Regions from separate parts of the Homo sapiens genome. Here region 1 is linked to region 2. The links are contacts of gene promoters, found by promoter capture Hi-C in blood cells and fetal thymus (Javierre and others, 2016). All regions are on one chromosome and are shown on one strand. The core of a region is centred on a gene start or on the middle of the fragment in contact, and the rest is flanking DNA. Distances in the headings are between cores, read along the strand shown. Region 1 overlaps LINC02286 (long intergenic non-protein coding RNA 2286). Region 2 holds the start of GZMB (granzyme B).

Evidence for each region. Contacts are between HindIII fragments. The CHiCAGO score rates a contact against its expected background, and 5 or more counts as called.
Region 1: a fragment that was not itself captured here is called in contact with the fragment with the promoter of GZMB in region 2 in 1 of 17 cell types (total CD8 T cells); the score reaches 5.7 in total CD8 T cells.

What each region holds. Positions count from the first base shown.
Region 1 is chr14:25,133,157-25,136,054 of GRCh38, forward strand. The region is part of intron 3 of LINC02286 (long intergenic non-protein coding RNA 2286); the gene reads right to left. Among named protein-coding and RNA genes, the nearest start is that of LINC02286, 22 kb to the right of the region's middle. RefSeq lists a silencer at 1. The HindIII fragment of the contact is 772 bases long and covers 1,158-1,929 here.
Region 2 is chr14:24,632,872-24,635,810 of GRCh38, forward strand. It overlaps GZMB (granzyme B), which reads right to left and starts at 1,319. Exons shown (of 5, transcript NM_004131.6): 1 at 1,235-1,319; 2 at 44-191. The coding sequence starts at 1,289. GZMH-AS1 (GZMH and GMZB antisense RNA 1) reads left to right here and starts at 231. Exons shown (of 3, transcript XR_007064087.1): 1 at 231-477; 2 at 1,425-2,939. RefSeq lists an enhancer at 698-1,897. The HindIII fragment of the contact is 9,884 bases long and covers 1-2,939 here.

The sequences.
Region 1 (2,898 bases), core at 294-2,793, 500 kb after region 2:
TTAAAGAAGCCGATACCGTGCCTCTTGATAATAGGGAATATGAAAACTTGATAAATTAATTGAAAAGTGAAGAGAAGTGGCGAATTCAAATTTGTACGGCAGTTCTAAGTGATAATTAGAATAAAATCATTAGACAAAAAGGAAAAATATATCTAGTTCTAAAGCGTTAGCTTTTATCTTGCTAGAAAACTCAGCTGTCTAGAAACTCACATTCCTAAGCGTCTGGATTGAGATTTTCTTTTGGTTTTCATTCATCAGGGAATGAAGTGAAAGGATTGAATTTTCACGTTACACTTAACTCAGGCTTGATAAGAGTCTGGAGGAGACAGTCTCTAATAATCCTATAATCCTAGATGTCCTGTCTATACCTTTTAACATCTCTGCATTTACTCCTTGAGTTTCTTGTGGTTGAGGAAGGATTTTGAAAGGGAGATGATGAGAAAAACATCACTCATATTAGTTACTGACTGAATTACATCCATTTCTGGTCAGTCGTCATTAGGTAAAGCTCTAAATTTCAATCAGGATCTTGGCTAATTGTACTTTGGATTTGATAAGGAGTCATTGAAAAGTGAGCAATGAATAAGATTAAAGCTAGGCATTTCTTCTTTTTAAACTAATGTATCATTCATTATTGGTTTAGTGCTCATCAGGTTTTGGTAAATAAATAAAAATCTTAGATTTGGAAAGTTCTACAGTGGTCATTTAGTTCAACCTTTTATTCCCAGGCAGGAGACCTTTTCTGCAAAATACCTGACTTTTTGTGACAGAAGATCAATCAATTCAGGATCTGCTAAAACACACCTAGGGATGTAAAACTCACCACTTTGTGAAGCAGAACATTCACCTAATATTCAGAGTGTAGCCTGGGGGTAGCAACGGGGCATCCCTGGAGAGTTAGTAGGAAATGCTCGATCTGAGTCCCTATCCCAGACTTGCTGAATCTGAATCTTCCCTTGACAGGATTCCTGGGTACTGGGTACTCATATATACGTAATGTTTGAAAAGCACTGGCTAATTCTATCGTTAGATGGTTTCAAATGTTAAATGGTTTCAAACTGACATCTTACTAAAACCTAATGTTCTGGTGTGGTCTATGAACCCATCCCCACAGCCTCGGCTGTTAGCCCAGCTTCTGGCCATTCCTGCAGTTATAAAGCTTTGGCCGCCACTGCCATTGTGGCCACCTCATCTCCTTACACTCAGTAGTTTCTGACTTTCCTGGGTGTGACGGCTGGGCTTTGGCACAGCCTTGGTCACATTTTCTGTGGTAGGAGCTGTGGCAACTCCAGGGCTTGGGCCAGATCAGATCCTGCTGCACCACTGAGGCTCTGGTTCTCTCAGTGCCCCTTGAAGGGGTAGGAGAAGGTTACTAAGAAGTTTAGGGGTATTTCACTTTGGGAGGCTGAGGAGGGCGGATCGCTTGAGATAGGGAGTTTGAGACCAGCCTGGCCAGCATGGTGAAACCCTATCTTTACTAAAAATTCAAAAATTAGCTGGGCATGGTGGCACATACCTGGAGTCCCAGCTACTGGGGAGGCTGAGACAGGAGAATCCCTTGAGCCCAGGAGGCGGAGGTTGCAGTGAGCTGAGATCATACCACTGCACTCCAGCCTGGGTGACAGAGTGAGACTCTGTCTCAAAACAAAACAAAACAAAAAGAAGTGTAGGGATATTTGTGCCATGTGGAGAGTGAAGAGTCAGGAAGTATCCGGGAAATAAATGACTAGCTCCTCTTCTTCCTGCTGACTGCTGCATAGTGCAGTGCCTGCCCTGCTTCTGCAGAGACGTGTGACCAGCGGTGTTTCTTGGGAAGCTGTGTACAGCCTGATAACATACTATTTTTTTCTTGCTCTCCCTCCTTCCTTGCCATGCATGTCTTTTTTTTTTTTTTTTACCTTTTGCCCCCAGAGAAAGCAGTAATGCCTAAGCTTTGCCTTAGAGTCTGTTTTCTAAGGAACCTAGACTAAGACATCTGCCCTGTATATGTTTCACTCACTGCTTCTAATTCTGCCATCTGTCTGGCTTTGGAATGGTCAACATCTTTCATATACTTTCTTCCTTCAAATTCTACAATGCAGCTACCAGGCCTTCTCTTTTCTTGGTCAAACACCCTCAGCTTCTTTTAATGATTCCTCAAAATGCAGTTTTAGTCTCTCACCTCTTGCCTCAGTTTAATATGTCATTGTCTTAAATTGTGGCTCCTTGACTGCTCCGTTGGGTTTGGTCAGTGCAGGGCTGAGTTCATGATGGGAGGATGGGCTTCTCATTTCCTTTATTGTGGGTATCATACTATTAATACAATAAATACAGCTATCCTGACCTGGACCTATTCTTGTGGGAATGCTGGCTATTTGGGTTGTGGTGACCTGACCGGTTAAAAATGAGCTTAGGGAAATTAGATTGAGAGTGAGCAAGGTTTAGCCTTCTGTGTCAGCTTCCGAGGAAGGCCAGGGTCCTCCATTGGCCCTGGAGTTCTTTAGGATGTCTGCTTTTTCTTAAAGATAAATTTGTGTTGACTCCCAAGGCAGAGGTGGTGAGATGAGGTGTTCACGTTACTTCCCAGGAGCTTTGCCCTCCTTGGGGTTAGAGTCTTCATTTTCTATTGCCTAGACAAACCCAGAGCCAGAGGATTCCTTAAAAACATTCAAGATTGTACCACATTCACAAGAATGTGAATCTCGGAGGATGACCTAATAGCCATATGAACTGTTCTAAAGTCTAGAACATCTTGTTATTCTGGATCCCCCCCCCTTTTTTTTTTTTTTAAAAAAAAAAGACTCTATCCCCTACCAAGTTTTAGAAACTTTTATGCTGTATGAATCGGCATTAGCTGAGTGCTTATAGGGAGCAAGCACTGTACCAACTTCATGGGAAGCACAGATAAAGGTAAGAGAT
Region 2 (2,939 bases), core at 69-2,568:
TGGAGTGTTTCCAGGAGGGTGTGGGCTGTTTTCTGCTCCTCACCTTCCCCAACAGTGAGCAGCTGTCAGCACGAAGTCGTCTCGTATCAGGAAGCCACCGCACCTCTTCAGAGACTTCTGATCCCAGATCATAAGATAAGCCATGTAGGGGCGGGAGTGGGGCTTGGCCTCATGTCCCCCGATGATCTCCCCTGAAGGAAAAGTCTGTCTGCTTGTGGGCACCCATGGAATCTGCTGGGTGGGCACCTGCTTAGTGGCTCCAGAACTCCTGGGCATTTGGGAGCCTGGGATAGCCTGGAGTTGGGAGTGGCCTGGAGGAAGGGGCTTCAATTTCCTGCTCTGAAAAAGGGAAGAACAGCAGACTTTGGTCTGTAAATCTTTCTTCCATATGTAGTTGAAGGCGAGCATACCTGTCTTAGGGACAGTGAAATCCCAGAGGCTCCTGATCATTCCTCTCCTGACTTTGCTTTGTTTCAGGTGAGTTTCCAAGACCCTTATGAGTCCTGTGGTGTCTAGGATAGTGCTGCTTTCTAATGGCCAGGGTGTAAGTGGAGGGATCTAGATACTGTCATATCCTGTTTCCTAGAGCCTGACATGTAGTGGGTGCCCAGTAAATGTTCATGGCTGCATGATGGACTGGCTCCAGTTAGCCTCTGGATGAGGGCTGGTAGAGCAGTGCTGGTGGAATTCTAGAAAGCAGGGAAGCTGGGGCCTGCCGTAGTGCCTCATCCTTGGAAAGAGGGGAGCCACCAAAGGCCAGGGAAGAAAAGCAGAGTTGGAGAATGGGACTGAGCAAACACATTAACAGTGTTCTGAGGACAGTGATTGTACCAATTCTGCTGTCAGCTGAGCTCTGGGTTTCTCTCCTAAGTAGACAGTGAGAGAAGCACCTGTCTTATCCCAGAAACAGAAGCCAGGCCTACTCTAGAATAATTTAATATTTCTCTTTTCTAGTTTCCCATCCTCTGCCATTTACTTCTAGGAAAGTCCTACTCTCCAGGTGACAAAGGTGGGCTCTGGGGAAGGGATAGTACCCACTGGCTCTTCTTGAGAATGGCCTGCTGCTCTGCCATTCCTGCTGATAGCTTATCCAGCATCACACTTGGGGGGTCTTGGTAGAATGGGAGCTGGAGTTCAGAACATTCCTGGTAGATAGATGGATCAGGAATGTGGAGAAAGGGCAGGAGACCTGTGGGATGGGGTTGGGCCCCCGAGGGTGGAGACGGTCACTCACCTGCATCTGCCCTGGGCAGCAGGAGGAAGGCCAGCAGAAGCAGGATTGGTTGCATCTTCTCAGGAAGGCTGCCCTGGTTGGAGCTGCTGTTGTTTCCTCCTTGCTCTCTTTTAGCTCTTGGGAGAGGAAAGAGGTGGAGCAGGCTCAGTGACTTCATGTTCCCCTCTGGTTTTGTGGTGTCTCATCACAGATTTTCTGTAAATGCTGCCCACCCCCACTGCCTCTGCCTGATGACGTCCTCTGGGTGCTTGTGTGAGAATCATGCAGTGACCACATCATCACCCACAGCTGATGACTCAGAGTGGACCACCTATTCAGCCCAGAGCAGGAACCCAAGCCTATGAAGTGAATTGTAGGATGTGGTATCAGCCAGTAGAGGTACTGGAGCACCAGAAACCTGAGTTCCCAGTGATAGAACCGCCAATGCCTCATGGCCATGCTGCTAAATCCATCAGGATAGTTTCTTTAGCAGGTATGTGTTTGAGCCCTTCTGTTGTGCTAGAACCAAGCATGTTGGAGATGTGTCTCCTTCACTTAGAGAGCTGACCATCTGGTTGAAGAGACGGAAATGCCAGGAGCCAGAGTACAGTTTGGGGAGGGCTATGGTAGCACAATACACAAGGCAGTAACAAAGCATGGCCACCATCTACTAGACCCATCTAGCAACCCATTTATTATCATAGCTTCCTTTCTAGAGAATTTCTAACATCCCTTATTTAGTTACAAATGTTTAGTGTGAGAGTCCACCTCTTTTCTGAATGCTTTCAATAAAAGTCCTGTACTTGACATTTTATTGGGCTAGATTAATGAATTGCTAGGAGTCAAATCCACTTTGGGTAGGCTGGGGTCAGTCTACTCAAGCCACTAGAACCAAGAATGAGAAAGGGCTGGTTCTCTAAAGGACGTTTGTGGTGCTAAATTGCTGATACCATATGAAGTGAGGAAGCATGCCAGGCAGCCAAAGATCAGTAGTTGTGTTGTTTAGTATTCTGTCTCCTGTCCAGAGAGCCACACTTCTTACATAGCAGGCTCAGCACATAACAGGCTCACAGTAAACATTTGCTAAACAAACTACACTAATGCTATCATTATAATGGATGTGAAAGATTGTTGTTTCTGAACAGCCCGTGCCCAATTCTGTTAAAAGACAACTAAGTCTCTCTACATGGTTCGATTCTTGTGATTTGTTTCCACCTTTATATTTTCTGTGAGGAAATTTTTCTATGAGGAATGGTATATCTCAAAATATAGAATTCCAGTGTAAACGTCTTCCTTGTCAATAGCAAGCCAACTACATTTATCAAACTTCTATTTTTTGAACCTAGCTTGCCCCATAGTAGACGTTTTAAAAATAATTTTTTCTGATTATAGTCATAATATATGTTTGTTAAGAAAATTTGGAAAGTAGGAAGGGAAAATATCACTTTTTAACCTGTCTCCCACAGACTGACTGTTACCATAAGCAGTGTGTTTTAAATACTTGGGATCACATTGTACATACAATGCAATTTATTTTATCCTTGATTAACCCTACAAATTAAGCATTTTCCCCATGCTCGTAGAAATCTTAGTCAATACAACTATAGTCTTTCTTTCCTAGGCATTAAAAAATTTAATATGCAAGTAATTTTTAAATAATTTTAGCAAAGCGAAAATAATAAACATTACCTAATTTCTCATCATTCACTGATAACCATCTTTAATG